7 separate regions of the Homo sapiens genome follow, and regions 1, 3, 4, 5, 6 and 7 are each linked to region 2. Evidence: promoter capture Hi-C in 16 types of primary human blood cells and fetal thymus (Javierre and others, 2016). All regions are on one chromosome and are shown on one strand. Each heading gives the region's core, a stretch centred on a gene start or on the middle of the fragment in contact. The rest is flanking DNA. Distances are from core to core; before and after follow the strand shown. Region 1 has its middle 17 kb from the start of PDHA1. Region 2 holds the start of CDKL5 (cyclin dependent kinase like 5). Region 3 overlaps PHKA2 (phosphorylase kinase regulatory subunit alpha 2). Region 4 overlaps MAP3K15 (mitogen-activated protein kinase kinase kinase 15). Region 5 holds the start of SCML1 (Scm polycomb group protein like 1). Region 6 overlaps PHKA2 (phosphorylase kinase regulatory subunit alpha 2). Region 7 overlaps PDHA1 (pyruvate dehydrogenase E1 subunit alpha 1).

The links. The method cuts DNA at HindIII sites, captures the fragments that hold promoters and counts their contacts. A CHiCAGO score of 5 or more calls a contact.
Region 1: a fragment that was not itself captured here is called in contact with the fragment with the promoter of CDKL5 in region 2 in 8 of 17 cell types (naive CD4 T cells, activated CD4 T cells, naive CD8 T cells and 5 more); the score reaches 10.1 in naive CD4 T cells.
Region 3: a fragment that was not itself captured here is called in contact with the fragment with the promoter of CDKL5 in region 2 in 5 of 17 cell types (naive B cells, total CD8 T cells, fetal thymus and 2 more); the score reaches 8.8 in naive B cells.
Region 4: a contact is called between a fragment that was not itself captured here and the fragment with the promoter of CDKL5 in region 2, in 1 of 17 cell types (naive CD8 T cells). The highest score is 5.3, in naive CD8 T cells.
Region 5: a contact is called between the fragment with the promoter of SCML1 here and the fragment with the promoter of CDKL5 in region 2, in 1 of 17 cell types (non-activated CD4 T cells). The highest score is 6.1, in non-activated CD4 T cells.
Region 6: a contact is called between a fragment that was not itself captured here and the fragment with the promoter of CDKL5 in region 2, in 1 of 17 cell types (neutrophils). The highest score is 5.0, in neutrophils.
Region 7: a fragment that was not itself captured here is called in contact with the fragment with the promoter of CDKL5 in region 2 in 9 of 17 cell types (total B cells, non-activated CD4 T cells, total CD8 T cells and 6 more); the score reaches 10.4 in total B cells.

What each region holds. Positions count from the first base shown.
Region 1 is chrX:19,325,796-19,329,052 of GRCh38, reverse strand. No RefSeq gene overlaps it. Among named protein-coding and RNA genes, the nearest start is that of PDHA1, 17 kb to the left of the region's middle. The HindIII fragment of the contact is 943 bases long and covers 1,247-2,189 here.
Region 2 is chrX:18,423,544-18,426,913 of GRCh38, reverse strand. It overlaps CDKL5 (cyclin dependent kinase like 5), which reads right to left and starts at 1,306. Exons shown (of 18, transcript NM_001323289.2): 1 at 1,219-1,306. RefSeq lists a silencer at 986-1,055 and an enhancer at 1,391-1,685. The HindIII fragment of the contact is 7,790 bases long and covers 1-3,370 here.
Region 3 is chrX:18,977,144-18,980,336 of GRCh38, reverse strand. The region is part of intron 1 of PHKA2 (phosphorylase kinase regulatory subunit alpha 2); the gene reads left to right. Among named protein-coding and RNA genes, the nearest start is that of PHKA2, 5.4 kb to the left of the region's middle. The HindIII fragment of the contact is 6,188 bases long and covers 1-3,193 here.
Region 4 is chrX:19,361,825-19,365,239 of GRCh38, reverse strand. It overlaps MAP3K15 (mitogen-activated protein kinase kinase kinase 15), which reads left to right. Exons shown (of 29, transcript NM_001001671.4): 26 at 2,390-2,502. Among named protein-coding and RNA genes, the nearest start is that of PDHA1, 20 kb to the right of the region's middle. The HindIII fragment of the contact is 5,010 bases long and covers 1-3,415 here.
Region 5 is chrX:17,736,143-17,739,428 of GRCh38, reverse strand. SCML1 (Scm polycomb group protein like 1) reads right to left here and starts at 1,936. Exons shown (of 8, transcript NM_001037540.3): 1 at 1,749-1,936. The HindIII fragment of the contact is 866 bases long and covers 1,541-2,406 here.
Region 6 is chrX:18,939,162-18,942,477 of GRCh38, reverse strand. It overlaps PHKA2 (phosphorylase kinase regulatory subunit alpha 2), which reads left to right. Exons shown (of 33, transcript NM_000292.3): 8 at 803-949; 9 at 2,430-2,483. Among named protein-coding and RNA genes, the nearest start is that of PHKA2, 43 kb to the left of the region's middle. The HindIII fragment of the contact is 3,992 bases long and covers 1-3,316 here.
Region 7 is chrX:19,345,852-19,349,110 of GRCh38, reverse strand. The region is part of intron 1 of PDHA1 (pyruvate dehydrogenase E1 subunit alpha 1); the gene reads right to left. Among named protein-coding and RNA genes, the nearest start is that of PDHA1, 3.6 kb to the right of the region's middle. The HindIII fragment of the contact is 2,379 bases long and covers 820-3,198 here.

The DNA.
Region 1 (3,257 bases), core at 469-2,968, 900 kb before region 2:
ACACTGGCAGCTGTTTTCCTTGTAGGATGAAAGAGTTAGACCTTTTTAGAGTAGAAGGTGAATTGAGGCTCGATCCAGCCAAGCCTCCCACTTCACAGATGAGCCAGCAGATCCAGAGAACTGAAACACATTGTCAAAGTAAGGCTTCCTTTCCCACCCAGTGATGGAGGGCTGTTTATGTGTGGGGTTGTGGAGCTGATCATTCTCGTTATGGACAAGCATTCAGCTCTGCACACTGGATTGCATGATTACTGTCTGTTTCTCAAACATTTCACCCAAGCTCTCTTCTGTTTCAGAGCTTTGAACTTGCTGTTTTCTTCTGCATAGAGTGGCCCCCCCTCTAGATCTCTGCACAGATTCCTCTTCTCATGATCCATGCCTCGGCTCCAGCAACACTTTCTCTTGGAGGCCACACTGGCCTATGGTTACAGAAAAGTTTAAGGAGGCATCATCAAATGGTCAAAGCACAAGGGCATAGGCATCCAGAGGCGGTGTGGACCTCAAACACAGAGAAGGGGGTGCCAATGTATGGGAAATGGGCAGGTAGTGTGGGTGGAAGGAAATGAAGACAGGCGATTCAAAGTACATGCATGCGGCCAAGCGTGGTGGCTCACGCCTATAATCTCAGCACTTTGGGAGGCCAAGGCAGGAGGATCGCCTGAGGCCAGAAGTTCAAGACCAGCCTGAGCAACATAGAGAGACCTGTCTCTATTATATATTTTTAAATATATATATATATATATATATATATATATTTAAAAATATATGTACATGCACGTTCAGCAAAGGCAGGTTGGAGAGCAATCTGTTTCATTTTGGCTAGTTGCGGTGCTGTGTATCTTCTGCTTCTACTATCAAAATCCCACTTTCCACCTTCTCCATCCTCTCCCGTGGCCCGGGAGGCTGACCTGTATGAACTGCATCAACAGAGTCAGTGGGTGACACCAGCAAAAGATGGAAGCCAAGTGGGGTCACCGTAATTATCCCCTCCATCACCCTCTCCAGACAAGAGGCCGCTTCAATTTGATTTCCATCTTAGAAAGATGACTTTGGTGACAGTGGGGAAAGGGGGCTAGAAGGGAGCCGGAGGAAGGAGGGCAGTTCGTGTGGTGTGAAGGATAATGCAAAGCTAATTCTGCAGCTGAGGACTTATGGCACAGAGTGGAAGGGGACTGGCTCCAGGGAAGCAGCAGGAGGAGCCCACTGCCTGTGGGGTTGGGTTGAGAAAGGAGGAAATATGAAAGCTTGGTTCTGTACAAGTTGCATTTCAAGTTCCTGTGGGACAACCCGATAGAGACATACAATGTGCAGGAGGACACACCCTCATCAAAGCAGACCCAGATGGCTTGTTCAAATAAGTTTTGTGTTTTTTAGAAATATAGCTGGGAGCTGTGGCCCATGCCTATAATCCCAGCACTTTGGGAGGTCGAGGCAGGCAGATTGCTTGAGTTTAGGAGTTTGAGACCAGTCTGGGCAACATGGCAAAACTCTTGTCTCCACCAAAAATACAAAAAAGTAGCTGGACATGGTGGCACACACCTGTGGTCCCAGCTACTTAGGTGGCTGAGGTGGGAGGATCACTCGAGCCTGGGAGTTTGAGGCTATTATGAGCTATGATTGTGCCGCTGCACTCCAGCCTGGGAAACATACTGAGACCCCATCTCTACAAAAAAATACAAAAATTAGCTAAGTGTGGTGGTGCATGCCTGTGGTCCCAGCTACTCTGGAGGCTGAGCTGGGAGGATTGCTTGAGCCTGGGAGGCAGAGGCTGCAGTAAGCTGTGATCACACCACTGCACTCCAGCCTGGGTGACAGAGTGAGACCCCCTCCCCCCACCCAAAAAAAAAAATACACACACACACACATATATATATGCACACACACACACACACACACATATATATATATACACACACACACAAAATATAGGCTAATTTATAAAATATCAAAAAATGCAAAAAAGAAAATAATCACAAATAATCCCATTATATAGACATCAGCATTAATTAATTCATTAATATGCTATATCTTTTCATACTTTTCTCCTTTCCTAGTTTGGATATCTACATTTTTATTTATCAGTGTTTAAGTATTTTAAAATTAAACAAATGTGAGTGAATTCTCTATTTTCAAAAACACAGATTAAAGTTTTTCTAGAGCTGTGATCAGCAAACTTTTTCTGTAAAGCTTCAGACAGTACATATGATAGGCATTGTAGGTCATATGGTCCCTATGTCACAACCGCTGGACTCTACCACTGTAGCAACTAAGCGGCCACAGGTAATAGGTAAACAAAATGGGCATGGCTGTGTTCCAATAAAACTATATTTATTAAACAGCTGCTGGTTGAATTTGGTCCATGGGCCAAATCCAGTTTGCTGATCTCAGCCCTAGATTAACACTTCCAGCTGGGCAAGGTAGCCCATGCCACCTGTAATCCCAGCACCTTGGGAGGCCAAGGTGGGTGGATCACTTGAGGTCAGGAGTTCGAGACCAGCCAGGCCAATGTGGCAAAACCCCGTCTCTACTAAAAATACAAAATTAGCCAGGCATGGTGGCATGTGCCTATAATCCCAGCTACTTGGGAGGCTGAGGCAGGAGAATCACTTGAACCCAGGAGGCAGAGGTTGCAGTGAGCCAAGATCATGTCATTGCACTCCAGCCTGGGCAATAGAGTGAGACTCTGTCTCAAAAACAAACAAACAGACAAACAAGAAAGCCCTTCCAATCTTAGTCCTCTTCTAGGGGTTACCACAATAGTCAGTTTTGTGGGCATTTTTCATGCCTGTTATTCTATGTGTTCACATAAAAGTGTGTGTGTGTTTAAGAGACAGAGTGAATTCAGTGATTCTCATCATTGGCTTTACATTAGAATCACCTGGGAGCTTTCAAAGCCCTTATACCTGAGTCCTATGCATGATTCCGATGTAATTGTCCGGGGCACTGCCCGGACATTGGGAGTTTTAAAAACTCCACAGTTGATTCTAATGCATAGATTCTAATGCACAGCCATGATTAAGACCCATGAATCTAAAGAAATACATCATCTTATTTTTTCTCTCTACATAAGTGATAATGGCAATTATTGTTTGGCAAACTTTTTTTCACACGAATATTTCTTAGAGATCATTCCATGCCAGCACATACACATCTTCCTCATTGTTTTAAATGCTACATTGTATACCAGAGTATGGGGCCATCTTCATTTAGGTAAGCATTCTAATACTAATGAGCGTTTCCTTGTCTTCTAGATTTTC
Region 2 (3,370 bases), core at 57-2,556:
TTCCGAATAGCCTCGGTGAAGATGTCTTTTTTGTAACCCTACAGCAAGAAAGAAACAAGCTGGAAATGTTCCAGCAGATGTTACCTAAAACGATAATCCTGTTCTATACACATCTCTGTCTCCTGTTTCTGACAAACGCTCTCAGACAAATTAATTTGTGTAATCTTTTACATTAACTATATAACCATTACGTTCAAACAAACCTAATTCAGATGCACAGAAAGAAATCATTCGGTGTCAACAATACTTTCTAAAATCAGCTTAAATTCCAGCCAATTAAAATAGATTGTGCTAACAGAATACTGATCTGCAACTACTTAAATATCACAGCACCCGTCTAATCTCACTGTAGAGATACTAAGGTCAGGCTTTTCTTATTCAGGCATCTGTTCTTTAACACTCAAATGAAGCGAAAAACAAAACCCTCAAGGAAGATCTGCCTTTACACTGAAATATGTTCAGGTTATTTTTTTCCCCAACGTGGGCACAAAACGTGTCAATGCAAGGAGGACCTGTTCGTTCTGGGAGACGGTTCCAAATCCCAGAATCCGATTTCTATGAGGGTCCAAAAGGTATGAAGGTCTGAGAAGGGGCCATTCTTCTTCCCCGCACTATGCCAGTCGTGAACTTCACAGCATCGCCTGAAACTTGTCCGGGGGAGGTTGCGGAGCCGCGGGGCCGGCGCCCGGTCGCTAGCCCACCCTCGCGGGCAGCCAAGGTCAGAAGGGCCCGGGCCGCGACTGACGGCCCCTGGCGAGTCTCGGGCTCCCTCCGAACTCGGGCAGGGGGCTGGGGCGCGCAGGCCCCTCCTCGGCGCCGGCGGGAAGGGGCTTACCTCGCCGCAAGCCCCGGGGAGCTCGTGCCGCGGGAGCGGCGGGGCGGGGACGCCGCAGACCCGCCGCTGAGGGGAACCCCGCGGGGCGGGCTCGACCCGCCGCCCCTCTTTCACACCCTTTCGCCTCCCCACACCCCAAAAGACAGCCCCAGCCCCTCGGGGGAAGCCCTTCCAGAGGCGCAGGGGAGCGCTGAGGAGGGGCTACTCCGGGCTGGGACGTCCTCACCGCGTCGCCCCGTTCCGGGGGAACCGGCGCCCCCGCCCCTTCTCTTGTCCGCCCGGGGGGACTGGGTGGGTCTCCACTCTCAGGAGAAGCTGGGTGGACGCGGGGCCGATGTAAGGGTAAGAAGGCTTGGCGGGCGGGTGGCGGCGCGACTACTCACCCCGCCGAGTCCCCCACTTCTAGCAGGGGACCCCACAGCTCCTGAGGACGCCGTCGCCGCTTTACCTTCCCCAGCGGCAGAGACAACTAATCGAAACCTCCGGCCCCGCCCTCTAGCAGAAGCGAACGCGCAGCCTATTTTGCTAACTGCCCCGCCCCAGCCGGCCCGTTCGGACCAATGGGAAAGCACCTCAGGTTTTGCCCGATCCCGCCTTTACCCCGCCCCCTTCTGGTAGGAGCCAATGAGGAGGAAGCGCTTGTCCTGGGGTTCGGGCTCGCGCCGCTCGTGCTCGAGTCTCCGAAGCCGAAGAACGCTGGTTCCTTATACAAGCTCGCCTGCGCGCTCACGCGCGCGCCGCGCCTCCTGGCACGCCAGGTTTGGTTGCCCCGCCAAGCCCTAGCAACCTGGGCTGGAGAGGCTGAGAGGGGCGGGGCCCGAGCCTGGAGTCGACGCCGGGGGGTAGAGCGGGGAAGCAGGGAGAGGGTCGACGGTGGTGGGGTGGGGAGATCGTGACTGAGAAAGGGGTGGCTGCGGGGGTAGGAGGTGGCGAGGAGGCCCCGGAATCCGCCTGTCACTGCGGAAAAAAGAGGGAATCCTGCCTGCAGCGCAGCTACCCTGCCCTCCCTCCGGAGGGACCCGTGCCGGGGGCTGGGGTGGGGGAAGTCGGAGAAGAGGGGGAGAACATACTCGGGGCGGGAGCTGAGAAATACAGGATGGAGGATGGTTTATCTCTGTTGTTGGTAAAAATGATATCGAAGTCCATTGCTGCTGCTGCCCAACTGTTGCCGCTGCGTGTGCACACACACACGCACATATGCACACACACAACACACACTCACACGTACACTCATCCAGCAGCTTGCGGTCCCTTGGGTGAGTTAGGCGCAAAGACCTAGCAGCCTGAGGATTCCTTACACAGCAGCTGGGCGCGTGCAAAGAGCTGTTGCAGCAGTAGCAGCAGCAGCAGCAGCAACGACCCACACCTCCGCTTCGGTCCGATGCTCTGCCACACAAGATCCCCCAGCTGGCTTGAAAGCAATGAAGTCATCGCCCAACCAGTACAAATGTAAAGATCTTAATACCCACCATGGATCGGGTTTCCAAGGAGGATGAAGAGGTGATGAAATTGAAGGAGATAACATTTCCAATGCTACTTTTAGAAAATAAAGAAAAAAAATTTTTTTAAAAAGACATTGGGGACAAATCTATGGAAAGCTGCATAATTATTTTCGCTTTAACAAGCAAAGGAGAAAAATAGGGTCTCTTCTGGTTAGGAAAAGCACGGAAAATAGGCAGTGTATGAGGTCATAGCTGCCACCAAATTAGAAAGATGCAGTACTGTAATAGGAAATAGATATTTGGGATAAAATCCACTTAATCTATTCCTGTAGTGAATCTGGTAACAATATGTAGCAGCATGCTCAGTTTGGCCACTTGATACCAAGCCAATAGGATTTTCTTTTTCATAACGGTGAATATTTGATGAGGAAATGAAAGTGGAAGCATATTAGAAAATTTTACAGGTAGGAGCAATGAATTAGCAAAGAGGGAAAATGGAGTCAGAGGCAACAACAGAGGGCTTCGCAGAGTCTCCTGCCTCCTCCAGATGCAAAGTAACAGTGCTGTGACCTCTAGCTTCACCCACGTGGATCCAGAACTCCTGGGGCAATCACTCCATTTTCATCCCTGTATATCAGAGCCTTTGTACTAGGAATTTCAGCAGCATTACCTTTGACTCAAATGAATAATTTTTTAAAATTTTATTTAGACCTGGTGAACCGGAAGTAACAAATTAATTATCCGTATAGATTGAGAAGATGGAGAAAAAACAATAACTGAACATCTGTTAATATAGGTCCAATTTAGTATTAAGTAGTAATATTAGATGCCTTATAATGTGCCATCCCATATACACAAATATGACCTTCTGCTTAGGGACATTTGCTTTGATCTGGTTTTAAGTAGTGGTAAAGGATTTCTTGCAGTCACTTGCAGTTTAGTTAATTCGTCTTTTGGTCAAAAACTAACCTTTCTAGAAAGTTAGTAAAAGTTTAAAAAGTACCATGCGCCGGGAGCAGTGGCTCACGCCTGTAATCCCAGCACTTTGGGAGGCCAAGGCAGGTGGATCACCTGAGGTCAGAAGTTCGAGACC
Region 3 (3,193 bases), core at 197-2,696, 550 kb before region 2:
TTCCTCTTTTACTAATCTTCCTCAGCACAGACCCTTCACGGGTGTTGGGCTGGAGGACTGTCAGGTCTTTCCCGTCCCATGAGGCCATATCTCAGGCTATCTCAGTGGGGAGAAACCTTGGACAATACCCGGCTTTCCTGGGCAGAGGTCCCTGCGGCTTTCCGCAGTGCATTGTGCCCCTGGTTTATCGAGAATGGAGAATGGCGATGACTTTTACCAAGCATACTGCCTGTAAACATTTTGTTAACAAGGCACATCCTGCATAGCCCTAGATCCCTTAAACCTTGATTGCATACAACACATGTTTTTGTGAGCTCAAGGTTGGGGCTAAAGTTACATCTCAAGGCAAAACAGTTGTTCAGGGTACAGATCAAAATGGAGTTTCTTATGTCTTCCTTTTCTACATAGACACAGGTAACAGTCTGATCTCTCTTTCTTTTCCCTACAATCATTCTTCTGTTAGAGGTAATAGTTGGTTCACATAATTTCAGTAAGGGCTGAAATTATTAAATTAATTAAATTATTTAATATTAATTATTAATTATTAAATTAAATTATTAGTTAAGCTAACATCTTAATTCCTTTTCCTGTATCTGTGAAAGAGAAGAACTTTTCCCATTAGTCATTTGCCAAATATACTTGCTGCTAAATATTATTTGAATCTTTAATGCAAAGAATGAAAGAGCTATGGTTACAAAAAGGTCCTTTTGCAGGTTTGATTTTGTAAATATATATACTCTAGGAAGTATCTTTAAACATTTGTTGCCTTTAAAAGAAATTCTTAGATTGTTTTGGCTCAGGTAAGAAATATGAACTTTGTACATTTTTTTCACTAACAGCTGTTTGAAGGCTCCTTAATAAAAGTATTAAGTATGAAATGGTGATGAGAATATGGATCAGAAGGAAAAACAATGGTCAAGGCAGTGTTCACTGTAACGACAGATTATTTGGTATAATAAAGCAAATAACTAAGAGACTGGGACAGTAAATACTGTTATTTAATGGCCACGGAATTTAAAATGAGAAGAATGGAATAAATAAAACATGGAGTATGGAACAAATAGTAACAATAATAAAGAGGAATTTGGGAGAGAGTTAAAAAAGATATAATTAAGTATTAGAAAATAATAATATGGCAGAAGAATAGGAAGAGACTGGAGTGAAAGTGTTTTTTTGTTTTGTTTGTTTGTTTGTTTGTTTTTTGAGACAGTCTTGCTCTGTTGCCCAGGTTGGAGTGCGGTGGCATGATCTCACCTCACTGCAGCCTCCACCTCCTGGGTTCCAGTGATTCTCCTGCCTCAACCTCTGGAGTAGCTGGGATTACAGGTGTGTGCCACCATACCTGGCTAATTTTTGTATTTTAAGTAGAGGTGGGGTTTCACCATGCCAGGCTGGTCTTGAACTCCTGACCTCAAGTGATCCACCTGCCTCAGCCTCCCAAAGTGCTGGGATTACAGGTGTGAGCTACTGCTCCCGGCCAGGAGTGAAAGCATTCTGAGGGCCTTATCCCATTAAGAAGGAGGATGAAGGTATTATCCTAGCTTTTAAGATAAGAGTTTGTGTTTAAGCATTACCATTAATATATGTGGCATATATAACTTTATTTTTATTTTAATTTTTTTTTGAGACAGAGTCTCGCTCTGTCACCCAGGCTGGAGTGCAGTGGTGCGATCTCGGCTCACTACAACCTCTGCCTCTCAGGTTCAAGCGATTCTCCTGCCTCAGCCTCCCGAGTAGCTGGGACTACAGGCATGTGCCACCACGCCCGGCTAATTTTTTGTATTTTTAGTAGATACGGGGTTTCACCATGTTAGCCAGGATGGTCTCCATCTCCTGACCTCATGATCCGCCCTACTCAGCCTCTCAAAGTGCTGGGATTATAGGCGTGAGCCACCGCGCCAGGCCTCTGGAATATATAACTTTAAAAACGATTGCAGAATAAAGAAAATCTGATCATCTGAGTGAAGGGAGGAAAAGGCTGCTGGGGAGGGTAGGAAATAAAGAAAAAAGTGTGGTAAATATAAAGTACAAAATAAGATGCAAATAAATCCAACTATACAGTATTAGTAATCACAAGAGTCTTCCTCATTAGTATAGTGGTGAGTATCTCCACCTGTCACAACGAGTATAAATGTTGAAATCCACCAGATAATAGAAATTATTATTATTATTATTATTTTGAGACAGAGTCTTGCTCTGTCACCCAGGGTGGAGTGCAGTGGCATGATCTTGGCTCACTGCAACCTCCGCCTCCCGAGTTCAAGCAATTCTCCTGCCTCAGCCTCCCGAGTACCTGGGATTACAGTCACCATCATGCCCAGCTAATTTTTGTATTTTTAGTAGAGACGGGTTTCGCCATGTTGGCCAGGCTGGTCTCAAACTCCTTACCTCAGGTGATCTGCCCGCCTCGGCCTCCCAAAGTGTTGGGATTACAGGCGTGAGCCACTGCACCTGGCCCAGGTAATAGAAATTATTTTTTTAAAACTTTTTAAAAGGTGTGTGTCATTTGTAAGAGACAAAACCTAAAACATAGGATACTGAGAGGTTGAAAGTAATATAGTGGGACAAGATATACTGGACAAAACTAACCAAAAATACGTTGATGTATGAATATCAGACCGAGTAGACTTTGAAAATTTTTTTTTTGACTTTGAAATTTTTTAAAAATTATATTAGGGATACAGAATGGTATTGCTAGATGACAGAGGGCTAATTCACTAAGAAAAATATAGCAATTTTAAATCTGCAGAATACTAACAACATAGCTTCAAAGTATGTAAAGCAAAATTTGACCTAACTATAGGAGAAGTTGACAAATCCATAATCTTAGTGAGAGTTTTTAAACCCCCTCTCTCAGATACTGTTAGATCAAGCAGAGAAATAATTAGGCCATAGAAAATTGGAGCACCGTAAGAAACAAATTCGATTAAGTACACTTACATAGAATTCCGCACTGAACCAATAGGAAATACTTACTTGTTTCAGCTTCACAAGATATTTTTTCAAAAAGTGATGACAGATTAGAATATAAGGGAAATGTCAAAAAATACTGAAAGATCAACTTTATGCATGCCACATTTTTTTTTGGCCAAAATGCAAGAAAATTAGAAAGCAATAACAAACAATTGCTGATGCCTGTCATATATGTTTGGAAACTTAGCAAGCCTGCTTCTGAATATGTCATGGATCAAAA
Region 4 (3,415 bases), core at 795-3,294, 940 kb before region 2:
GTAGGTCGAAGAACTTTTTTTTTTTTTTTTTGAGATGGAGTTTGACTCTGTTGCCCAGGCTAGAGTGCAGTGGTGCAATCTCTGCTCACTGCAACCTCTGCCTCCTGGGTTCGAACTATTCTTCTGCCTCAGTCTCCCCTCCCGAGTAGCTGGGATTACAGGCGCACGCCACCACAACTGGCTGATTTTTGTATTTTTAGTAGAGACGGGGTTTCACCATATTGGCCAGGCTGGTCTTGAACTCCTGACCTCAGGTGATCCTCCCGCCTTGACCTCCCAAAGTGCTGGGATTATAGGCTTGAGCCACTGCGCCCAGCCCAAAGAATTTTTTTTTTTTTTTTTTTTTGAGACAGAGTTTCGCTCTTGTTGCCCAGGCTGGAGTACAATGGTGCCATCTTGGCTCACCGCAACCTCTGCCTCCCAGGTTAAAGCGATTCTCCTGCCTCAGCCTCCCAAGTAACTCGGATTACAGGCATGTGCCACCACGCCTGGCTAATTTTGTATTTTTAGTAGAGAGGCTTCTCCATGTTAGGCTGGTCTCAAACTTCTGACCTCAGGTGATCTGCCTACCTCAGCCTCCCAAAGTGCTGGGATTACAGGCTTGAGCTGCCGCACCCGGCCAAGAATTTCTTTATAACCAATTTTTACACAGAAAGGCGGAGGGAAAGTTAGAGTCGTATTTTTAGGTTTTGTGGCTGGCTTTGGGGAGGAGTTCTGGTTTCTGTGCCCCGCTTTGGGGAAGAGGGATTCTATGGTGCCTCCAGGAGAATGGACTGAGAGAGGGAGGCAGGAGAAGGTCAGAGGAAAACTTTTTCTTCTGAGGCTGCTGCTGAGGCCATTTGGGGGCACTGTTTTCTGAGCCCCAACAAAAGCTAGACGTGGTTCCAATCTGTCAGCCCTTTCCCCCAAGGCATGCTATGCCTGAGCTGGCATGTGGGGGAAGTTTGAGGCACAGTTGTGCCAAGTCATATCTGATCCCAGAGAGCCCATGAGCAAGACTGGGTTTCAGGAGGCGGTCCCTTGGGAAGAGCCCAGCCTGTGGACTCTGGGCGTTACTTAACTCCTCTGCCTCAGTTACCTCAGCTTCAAAACAGGGGTTTAGAACAACCAGTGCTTCCTAGAAGTGCCGCAGGGCTTCAGTGACTGAATTCATGCAGTGTTTGGCACAGTCCTGGATTCTGGGTAGGAAGTGCTTGGTGGATGTTGGCAGGAGCCATCCTCCCCACCGGCAGAGCAGCATGTCTCACTCACTGTCCCTGCTCTGCCCCATTACAAGCAGGGGCTTCCAGCTGGGTGCGGTGGCTCACACCTGTAATCCCAGCACTTTGGGAGGCCGAGGCAGGTGGATCACTTGAGGTCAGGAGTTCGAGACCAGCCTGGCCAATATGGTGTAACCCTGTCTCTACTAAAAATACAAAAATTACCCATGCATGGTGGCGCATGCCTGTAGTCCCAGATACTCGGGAGGCTGAGGCAGGAGAATTGCCTGAACCCAGGAGGCGGAGGTTGCAGTGAGCCGAGATTGTGCCACTGCACTCCAGCCTGGGCCACAGAGTGAGACTCTGTCTCCAAAAAAAAAAAAACAAAAACAAAATAAGAAGCAGGGGCTTCTGTCCCCTTCGTTTAGTCCCTGTGTGAGGAGGAAAGAAACTTACCATTCTATTCTAGTTTCAGCTGCCTTATCTGACTTAGGGAGCCAGGTTTAAATAATCACATCGTCCTTCTGGCTGAGTTCTGATTAACATCGGCATCTTTTGGTTCACGATACGTTTTTGAGACAAAACTGCCTGAGTGCGTTCAGGCTACTGTAACAAAATAACCAGAGACCAGGCAGCTTATAAACAACAGAAATGTGTTTCTCACAGTTCTGGAGACTCGAAGTCCAAGATCGAGGTGCCAGCAGATTCCGTGGCCAGTGAGGGCCTGCTTCCCCATTCACAGATGGCCATCTTCTCGCGGTGTGTCCTCACATGGTGGAAGGGATGAGGGAGCCTCTGGGGTCTCCTTTCACAAGGACACTCCTCTCACCTCACCTCTCAAAGCTCCGTCTCCTAACACCATCACCTTGTGGGTTAGGATTTCAACATATGAACTTGGGCCGGGTGAGGGGCACACATTGAGTCCATTGCAAAAATATATCCAAGCTGTGAGCACTGGCCTTTGTTGTCAAGGGGAGGAAAACACAAGGAAGGTTCCCCTCTGCAGACTGAAGTCTGAGTCACAGAACCTGAAGAAACACATGTGCTTCCCTCTCTAGGCTGACTCTTAGACTTGTCCCATTTTCCATTTTTTTTCCATCTCTAATGTATGCACAACAGATGCTTGAGTTAAATTGAATGGTGTTGAATGCTCTCTGGATAATGGCTTTTTTTTTTTTTTTTTAAACCAGACTTTTGGAACACCTAGTTGAAAAAGAGAGAGAGTACCAGAATCTTCTGCGGCAAACTCTAGAACAGAAAACTCAAGAATTGTATCACCTTCAGTTAAAATTAAAATCGAATTGTAAGTCATTTTCCAATGAGACAGACTTTAACATCTAGCTAATATTCTAGTTAGCTTTGAAGAAACATTTGAGGTTATCTTCTGTTAATCCAGGACTCCAGTAGATTCTAGACTACTTCTCAATCATAAAAAGGGACTACTGATAGATTCAACAACATGGCTGCATTGTAAATGCAGTATGCTAAGTGAAAGAGCTAGATTCACAGCCAGCACCGTAGCTCGTGCCTGTAATCCCAGCACTCTGGGAGGCTGAGGCTAGCAGATCAATTGAACCCAGGAGTTCAGGACCAGCCTGGTCAACATGGCAAAACCCCATCCGTACAAAAAATAGAAAAAAACCAGCTGGGCTTGGTGGATGCATGCCTGTAGTCCTAGCTACTTAGGAGGCTGACATGGGAGGATCACCTGAGCCCAGGAGGTTGAGGCTGCAGTGAGCCGAGGTCATGCCACTGCACTCTGGCCTGAGTGACAGTGAAACCCTGTCTCAAAAAAAAAAAAAAAAAAAAAGATTCAAAAGGCCACATACCATGATTCCTTTTCCTCCAGAAAAGGCAAAACTACAGGGACAGAATCAGAATGGGGAGGTGACGGGACTGATTGTAAAGGGCACATGAGGACTTTTGGGAGTGACAGTCATTTCTGTATCTGTGCTGCCACCTTCATAGCACATTGGACACCTAAAAAGGGTAGTTTACTGCATAAGTAAATAAATATGCCTCCATCAACCTGACATTCGTTTTGGGCCACTTAGAAACGAGCTCCAGAGCTACCTCTTGGAATGTGGACTAGATAAGCTCTGACCTCAACACTAAAACCTATTTCCTTGTAGGATTTCCAGTGCAGTTAGGGATGTGATTCCTAAGGAAAGGCATTTGAAAGATGTGGGGATAAGCATTTAAAGTGGTAGACCTAA
Region 5 (3,286 bases), core at 687-3,186, 690 kb after region 2:
CAAAAATGAGTTTAAAGGAAACTCATTTATATTTACCCCGGAAATCTAAACTCTTGATAATACCACACATTTTAGTTTCTTCTCACTTCTTCCCACAAGATAAATAATTTCAGCTTTACAACATTTTCTCAGAGCCCAACCATGACTACACTGTGCAAAATGAATTAATTTCACTTTTAAATCTCAAATCCCGTAAAAATGAGTTTACTTAAAATGAAACTCACTTGCATTTACCACAGAAATTTAAACTCTTAATTACACCATATACCTTAATTCCTTTTCACTTCTTTCCATAAGATAAATCACAACTTTACAACATTTTCTGAGCCCAACCATGACTAGATTGTGCGAAATTAATTAATTTCACTTTTAAATCTCAAATCCCATAAAAATGAGTTTACTTAAAATGAAACTCACTTGTATTTACCACAGAAATTTAAACTATTCATTACACCATACACTTTAGTTCCTTTTCACTTCGTCCCACAAGATTAATTACAGCTTTACAACATTTTCTCAGAGCCCAAGGCTAGATTGTGCAAAATTAATTAATTTCACTTTCAAATCTCAAATCTCGTAAAATGAGTTTACTTAAAATGAAACTCACTTATATTTACCACAGAAATCTAAACTCTTGATAACATAAGAACAAGAGGCCGTCTGATTTTCTAAAAGACTTTTTTTAGACATTAAAGACATTTTCAAAAGTCGTAAATATTCGCTCCGGAGGCGCAAGGCTTTCACCTGCCATTAATTCATCAGATAAGGCACAGCTCACAATGAGGCGCCACTCCCACCGGGACCACTTTGAGGAACACACAGCAAAACGCTCTGTTTGTTTTAAGAACAATCACTTTCTAAACCTTCCTGCGGGACTCTCAAAGGCAGCCCTTCCTTTGCCGCCAGAACCGCATCCCATCGCCCAGCACTTGCCGCAGGCCGGACAAGTGAGGCCCAAAAGGGCACCCAGCCCACGCCCCGCTTTAGAAAACACCGCGCGGCAAAGCTGCTTGGAAAATCGCTATCTTTTAGTCAACCTGAAGCCAGTTTGCCGCACTCGGGGAGAGCCGGGGAGAGGAGGGAGGGACGCGATCCGCCACCAACCAAATCAGGGCCTTTCCTGTTAACGACCACGCGGCAAGGGGGCCGGGCCCTCGCACGCCTCGACGGCCTCCCCCACTCCAAAGGGACTCCGATTTCGCAGGATCTCCCGCCTCCCGCCTCTGCTCCCAACACCCTACGTTTTTCTCTTCCTCCTCATTTACGTATTTACAATAAAACAGCGAAGCTGCACAGTCTGTCTCTAAATCAAACGCGGTTACCATCAAAGCCTCAGACTCTATGTCTCAACCGCAAAAGGTCTGACAGGAAATCAACTCGGGAGTTTGTCAATTCTTTAAACTCAAAGCTCTGTTAACGAAATCTGGATCCTTCCTCGCTCCCCACCTGCCTCCCCTGACAGGAGAATGACTGTAAAAGGATCCTGTCGTCCCCGAAAGTCAGCACCAAGCACTTCACAAATTGTCAAATCTCAAAAGCTTACACGCGCGGGCACTCCGGAAAGGCTGTGGGGACCACCCAAAGCACCCCCCTCCACACCGCGGCTGAAATTGGAGGCTGCGAAGTCAAGACTCGCTCTTCCCCGCAAAGCAAACCCTCTCTCCTCAGGAGAGCCCCGGCCCCTAAGCCAAATCGTGTATTCCCGTGACGGAAAGTTCAAGGTGAGGAAAAAGTACGACTGGACAGACCTATTTTAGTGACAGAGCCTGTCACGCCGGCCTCCGGAGGTCGCGGTAAAACTGCTCGCAGTAGTCCTGCCTCTCCGATGGGCGACAGCTGTGACCGTTAGGCCACTCGACGCTTCGGAAAGGTCCTGGCACCGGAAACCGGGCCTGGTCACGCGCACGCGAGACCAGTGATGCCCTGACCCCTGAGTGGATCAGAGAGCTCCCGCGACGCCGAATTCCCACACTCGCGGTTGGGGGGGGGGGGGGGGGGGGGGGGGGCGGGACTACCCGCTGACCAATCGGAGTCTGGCCACTGACAGGCGTCACCGTTGATCGGCCAATCCGCGGGTGCTCTCCCAGTCCTTGGGTGAGGGCGGGAATTTGCTAAGGAGATGGCTGTGGGGCGGGGCCGAGGGCGGGAATTTGCTGAGGAGATAGCTGTGGGGCGGGGCCGAGGGCGGGAATTTGCTGAGGAGATGGCTGTGGGGCGGGGCCTCTTACCTCAGGTTTTCCTTCGCAAGACCCGCAGGATTGAAAATGGACGTTAGGCCTTTCAGAGACTCGCGCGCTGAGTGGTTTCTGCGGCTGCGCAGGAGGCTGGCGCGCATGCGCAACCCTTCTAGTGGCGTTGTAGTTAGGGACGTGGTGTCCCCCCTTCGTTGTTGGGGTGTCCGAAGCTTTTTTTTTTTTTTAATGTGATCCCGCCCCTCCCCCGCGCTCTGTGACGCACCAGAGACGTCGTCGTAAACTGGGTTTCCTGGACGCACGCCAGTGATTGACTTGGAATGAGGAGAGGGGCGGGGCCTTAGCAGTTGCCCTGAGCCAGGTCTGGTAGGAAGGGCGAGGGGGGCCAGGGTGGGGGGCGGGCAAGATATTTCCAGTCTCCAGCACCCACAAGTTGGACTGGGGAACTAACGCAGACCTTGAAGGCAGATTTACTGGATTGGACCCCCAGCTCCAACACAGTCCTCCTATGGCCTTAGGCAAGCCAAGTAACCGCTTTGTGCTTCGGTTTCCCCATCTGTAAAATGGGTATAATATGGGGACTACATGAGTTAATGTATGCAAAGCACTTAGAACAGTACCTGGCATAGAATTTTGCTATTGTAATAAAGGCTATGTGACATCATCTAGTGGCATATAGTCTTACATACTTATATCGAGGCTGCTCATCTTGGGAAGGAGACACAGTCTGAGTAATTATCAGAAGCAAAGCAGGCAGATATTTCAAAGTAAAGCTATACATCTTTTCTTGGCCCAGAGAGGAGCTACAAAGAAAGTATACTGGACGTTGGAAATGTATCATTTTTCCTCTCAAATACGAAGCTAGATTAAAGCCCATTATAGATATAGTATATGTTTTTTTTTTGTTTTTGTTTTTGTTTGAGACGGAGTTTTGCTCTTGTTGCCCAGGCTGGAGTGTAGCGGTGTGATCTCGGCTCACTGCAACCTCTGCCTCCTGGGTTCAAGCGATTCTCCTGCCTCAGCCTCCAGAGTAGCTGGGATTACAGGCGTCTGCCACCATGCCCAGCTAATTTTTGTATTTTTAGTAGAGACGG
Region 6 (3,316 bases), core at 258-2,757, 520 kb before region 2:
CTGTCACTTACTAGCTGCTCGAAGTCTCAGGGTCCTCAGGTGTGAATTGGACATGGTACCCTAAGTCCTTCTTCATATGAAAGATTCAATGAGCTTATGTTTGCAGGGGTCTAGCCCCATGTCTGTACGTGTTAGATCTCAGTGTTAATTCCTTCCTTTCCCAAACTTTTCCTGATAATTTCAACTCCTTTACAAGTTTCCAGCGCCTAATCCAGCCACTTATTTATAATTGAGGCCATATTATAGTGCCTCTAAGTAACCCTAGAAAGATTCTAGGACTAAACTAATTCTGTGGTTTACCATTTTGTCTGAGTGTTCATGAGATCTTCTGGATTTGACTCCTCCTTTAAGTGGTTTCTGGATCACCCAGTCCAACTGGTCACATTCCACAGAAGCCAGACATTTCTCCAAGCTGGCCCCATGTATGTGTTCTTTTCTGGTCTCTGTCTTCATAGCCAAGACAGCTTAGCCTACTGACACAGGTGGCCCTATAGTTCCTCCCCTACATGTCCTAAAGGTCTGGCAAAGTCAATAGGGCATGGAAGGAAGGGAGACAAGCAGTTCTTAGCGTGGGCTTCAGACAGTACCATGCTCTCCCCAAGCCCTGACTTCTCGCCTGAGGAATAGGAATCATTGGCTGGATATACAGTGTTGGCCAGCAGGGGCCATGTTGGTAGGACAAAGCTCTACTCAAAATTGGCAACCGTATTCGAATGTTCCCTTGGGGCCGAGCTCATGGTCCCTAGATACTGCGCCTATTAGCGCATCTCCAGGTTAAACCACCTCTTTGTTTTTCATTCAGTCTATTCTGTTCTCCATGCTGCCAAGAGCGTCGACATCTAAAGAAATTGATGCTGGACTTCTTTCCATTATTTCCTTCCCGGCCTTTGCAGTGGAAGATGTAAACCTTGTAAATGTGACCAAAAATGAAATTATTTCTAAGCTCCAGGTAAGCATTAGTCATGCTGGTGCCCTTCTGTCCTGTGTGATGTGCATGGAGCAGCTCACCCATGCCTCAGTTCCCCATGAGGTTAATTGCTTGATTTATCTAAGCAGATGCATACAGCGTTCAAAGCTGAGTCTACAGGCAAGAAAACAAAGTCTCCGAGTGATTTAGTGGCTTGGTTCTCTCCTTGAGAAGCAGAACTGGCACTCAGGCAGGCACCTTTGAACCCCAGTTTGTACCAGTACCATACTTCTAAGGCAGAGCTACTTAACCCTTTAGAGGTCACAGACAGTGTATAGAGTCACTGCCAGAAAAAAAAATGCATATGTCCCAATATCCTCAAACTTTACACACAATTTCAATGGACTTGCCAATCCCAAAGTTACCTTCAGGTTAAAATAATCCCTGTTTTGAGGTGAAATGCAGTAACCGTGATACACTAAACTGAGAATATTAAATACTCCAGCCAGTTGAAACTATCGGTAAAATTATCAAAGAATGTAAGTTTCCCTAAGCTGAAATCTGCAGATTGATTGTCCTACTTAGGTTCCATGAAAAATGCTTTTGTCCCTTGGAGTCCCTATGTCTCCAATCATATTCCCAAAAGAAAGCAGCTGTCTCAGTCAGGGTTCAGTGGGAAAAAGGGAACCCCTTTAGGTAGTTGAAGTAGGAAGGGAATGAATACAGAGAATGAAGTGTTTACAAGAAGAGCGGGTTCTAGGCTCAGCCTCCTGGGATGACTCCCAGGACAGTGCGGTGCTGGTCGCTAGGGCTAGGGACGTGGTTGCCTCCATGACCCTCGCGAGAGCCACATCTGCTGTAGCAGCCTCCACATACTTACGGAACTGGAGAATGGACACCCAAAGCTGTGATCTATGGATTAAGGGCGTCAGATTAAGAGAGTGCTGCCCCTGCCCTCCTTTCGTAGCATCCAGGAAGCTGGGGCAGAACCCTGGAGCCTGCAGCCCAAAACCAGCAGCGACAGTCCTAAGCACAGGAAGCTGCCCCCTCCCTTTCTGCTAATCTTTGTGGAGGTGCATCTGACCTTAGAGCCTCCTCTGCAGCCAAAGCCTAACTTCCAGGAGCCTGGGGAATGTCCTTGCAGCTTTCCAATCTTGCAAGTAGGAGCAAACCAATCCAAGTATCTGCCTTGGTGGCTTTTCTAAATAGTGAGGGTCCTTTTAGGTCTCTGTGTAATACAGTAAATCAGAATGAAGGCATGGTCGTTCACTGAACTCTTGGTAATAACTCTTGCAGCCCTGATACTCTGATGGAATGTTTTGGCGTTCCCTTCCAAGTACCGATCAAACCTGAATTGATTTTGCTTATTACTTAAATATATTAATAACTATACTGACAGCAAAGAACACTTGGTATAAAATTCATTACTAAAAGATTCATGGGAAAGAGGGTGCAGGGCTGACTTGAATTAAAAAGGCAAAAAAATTTCTCTGAGCTCATCGAATGTACTTTCTCTTATTAGGGGCGTTATGGATGCTGTCGCTTCCTTCGAGATGGTTATAAAACTCCAAGAGAGGTTGTATTTAAATATTGTTTCTTATCTTTCCTCAACTGTTTCATCTCTAAGTTGCCAATGTGTTGTTCTCCCTCTGCTGATTATAATTTTATGTTGGAATATTGGAAAGGGAAGTATTAATTTTGGAGTCAGCAAGCCTGGAGCCAGGCAATAGCATAGTATCTTTAGTAGGGACGGTGAGCTGGTCATTTAAAACCAGCTTGGCCAGGCGCGGTGGCTCACGCCTGTAATCCCAGCACTTTGGGAGGCCAAGGTGGGCGGATCACGAGGTCAGGAGATCGAGACCATCCCGGCTAACACAGTGAAACCCCATCTCTACTAAAAATACAAAAAATTAGCCGGGTGTGGTGGCGGGCACCTGTAGTCCCAGCTACTCAGAAGGCTGAGGCAGGAGAAAGGCGTGAACCCGGGAGGCGGAGCTTGCACTGAGCCGAAATCGCGCCACTGCACTCCAGCCTGGGTGACAGAATGAGACTCCGTCTCAAAAACAAAAACAAAAACAAAAAACCAACTTGTAGGCCAGGTGCAGTGGCCTGTAATCCCAACACTTGGGGAGGCTGAGGAGGGAGGATTGCTTGAGCCCAGGAGTTCGAGACCAGTCTGGGCAACATAGTGAGACCTTGTCTCTACAAAAAAAATAAAATAAAATTAGTGAGGCAGGTGTGATGGCATGTACCTGTGGTCCTAGCAACTCAGGAGGCTGAGGTGGTAGGATCACTTGAGCCCAGGAGGTCAAGGCTGCAATGAGCAGAGATCACACCATTGTACTACAGCCTGGGTGACAGAGTGAGACCCTGTCTCAAAAAAATAAAAATTTCTTTAAAATTTTAAAA
Region 7 (3,259 bases), core at 760-3,259, 920 kb before region 2:
GATTATCCCGCATCTGAAGGCAAGCAGCGCAAAGAGGGGCAAAAAACAAACCCATCCTTTGTTTTCAAAGAAATTATAGTGAGAATATAATGAAATTAGTGGCTAAAGAGACTAGATCATCTGTGAGCTGTGTCTGTTTATGCCATTCTTTTGTTTGTTTGTTTTGAGACGGAGTTTTGCTTTTATCACCCAGGCTGGAGTGCAGTGGTGCGATCTCGGCTCACTGCAACCTCCGCTTCCCGGGTTCAAGTGATTTCTCCTGTCTCAGTCTCCCGAGTAGCTGGGATTACAGGTGCCCACCACCACGCCCGGCTAATTTTTATATTTTTAGTAGAGATGGGGTTTCACCATGTTGGCCAGGCTGGTCTCCAACTCCTGACCTCAGGTGATCCACCTGCCTTGGCCTCCCAAAGTACTGGGATTGCAGGCATGAGCCACTGCGTCTGGCCTTTTCATGCCATTCTTAGTCATAACCAGATACTGTTCATTTTGAGCAAGCCAAAATTATACTTCAAATAAAACTATGATTTAATCTCCACTCTAGGCAAACTTGACTCTTCTATCAAATTGGATCTGTAAGAAAAAATATTTTAAATTGATTGAAGTATGAGATAAATACTTTAGGGAGACAAGACAAAAGAAAAGATACTTAGCACTCTCTGACTTAAACACAATGGGCTTGAGCCAGCTGTTTTATAATTTATAATTTGAACAGCCTAAATCTTGGACAGGCTCCTCCTGAAGCCCCAGTAGAAATGTTCTCTGAAACACTGTTCTCTTGATGTTTGGGTGGCTGTCACTGTTTGGAGGTAAAAAGCTTGGAGGCGGGGGGTGAGAAATGATTCCTTTCCAGTTTTACAACTGAGCAAACCTGCTCACAGCAAAAGTATTCTATGTAATGGCTAAGGTTTAGGTTAGACCACAAAATTTATCCAGTAGTATTATCATACTATTTTAGCTCCCTTCTGCCACATTCTCACACACTGACGTGTAAACCAACATGATTTCTCCATAAAAAGCACATCTGATGTGTTCATACCTTACCTAATCCAGCACTGGACTGATCTTGGTGAGAAGAGTTAAGACTGATCTGCCAAGTATACCCTGGAGTGTACAAGCCAATAGGCAGAAAGCTAATTACGTATATCTTCACCCCTCAATAGACCATTATTGGACAAAGCCAACAAACACAGACAATGACAGTGCTGGAGGAAAACAACTGAAATACTAGGAATCAGTGTTTCAGTTAACTTACAGGCAGAGACAGTCCACTAATGTATCTCAGAAAAAGTGAAGGAAATTTAGGAATTTGGGAAGAAGTAAAGCTGAGAGAAGGTGAAACAGCAAATCAATGGTTATATTTAGCAATCAAACAGATGTGTTATTCTTGGCAGTTAATAAATATTTTGTGGGGCCAGAAATTTATTGTATTGTGAAATAAATTTCCAAATACAACTACAGAAACTGCAGTTTTTGGAAGGCAGGAGTCCAAACCAGCCAGGCGACAGTAACAGAGAAAAGGTAACTTCTTTCTCAATCCTAGAGTTGAAACAATGAGGCAGGATAATGCTATACAATAAAGAGCAAGAAGGGGCCCAGTGCTGTGGCATGCGCCTGTAATCTTGCGCCTGCAAAGATTAGGACTGCCAGAAAGCTACTTAGATACTTTCTCCCATGGCTTCATTACTGTGTATCTCAAAAATAAGAACCACTGATATGAGTGAAAGGAACAAAGTTAAAGAAGCTAAAAGTCCTATCAGAAGTGTGTGTGTATCATTTCTGAGTGAGAGCTTGTTGAAAAGATAAGTTTACCATTCATTTTCTCTGGAGAGCCATAAAAAGATTCTCTGTTAAATGGGATTCCTCTCTGACAGAGACCACGAACAACCCACTCAAATTTTAAAAAATAAAAACTAGGCCGGGCATGATGGCTCACACCTATAATCCCCAGCACTTTGGGAGGCCAGGGTGGGAGGACCACTTGAAGCCAGGAGTTCAAAGCCAGCCTGGGCAACATGAGACTCTCATCTCTACAAAAATAAATATTAAAAAATTAGTCAGGTATGGTGGCACACACCTGAGGCTACAGTGAGCTATGACTGTGCCACTGCATTCCAGCCTAAAAAAAAAAATTAATTAAAAAAAAGTAAAACTTTAACTTCCTAAATACATAGGAACCATTCATGTGAAAGAGGAAAAACGTTTCAAAAATTCCAGATTCTAACAGTGTAAATTAAAACTCTTACCTACCACTTATAAAGCCAAAACATTGCTAGTAAAGATCTCACAAAAGGAGCCATACAGAAATGCAAACAATAAAATAACATTTTAAATGCATTCAATCTTCTTCCATGAAATAAGAACTATGAAAACTATAAACCTTATTCAAAAATAAAAACACAATCTTGATATTCATTTCAAAGTTTCACACCAAACACTCTTTGATGAGACAATGGCAATCTTTAAGCCTGAGATAAATCTCCCTACCTGCCTGGTTTTAAGAGAGTGAGAGTAATCCCAGCACTTTGGGAGGCCGAGGTGGGAGGACTGCTTGAGCCTGGAGATGGAGACCAGACTGGGCAACGTAGCAAGACCATGTCTCTAGTAAAAAAAAAATTTTTTTAATTGGCTGGGTGTGGTGGTGGCACATGCCTGTGTTCCCAGCTACTCAGGAGGCTAAGGCAGGAGGATCGCTTGAGCCCAGCAGGCTAAGGCTGCAGTGAGCTGTCCTGCTACTGCACTCCAGCCTGGGTGACACAGAGACCCTGTCTCAAACAAAACGAAAGTAAACCAGGGAGAATAAAAAAGGAAAAAACACACAGCGTCTTGGGAGGTTAAGGGGATTATCTTGTGTCACAGCCATCAGACCAGCTGCCTACCCTTCTCCCTCCCCTTCTCCCTCCCTTCATGGAGTATCACACAGATGGTAGGAGTCTAGTGCAGTAAGTCTGCCTAATTTGGGTGAGCCACTGCTTATTGTTTACTGTCAAGATTTTTGTGAAAGGCTTATATGCAAAATGTCTTTTTACATGTATAATATAAAAAACTAAAACGTTGATCTATTTTGTTACTTATAGTTAAGTAAAAAGACATCCATAAGTATGAAGAATTACAAAATACAAAGAGTCAACACGTTAGTTTATTATTCCACCCTTTAAAAAAATAAAAGTGAAACTTTTAGTTCTATCCTTAAAAGCTTCAGGAATGGTTCCTAATTAGTCCATGACAAGTTGAGTGACACAGAAAACTTCTAATTATC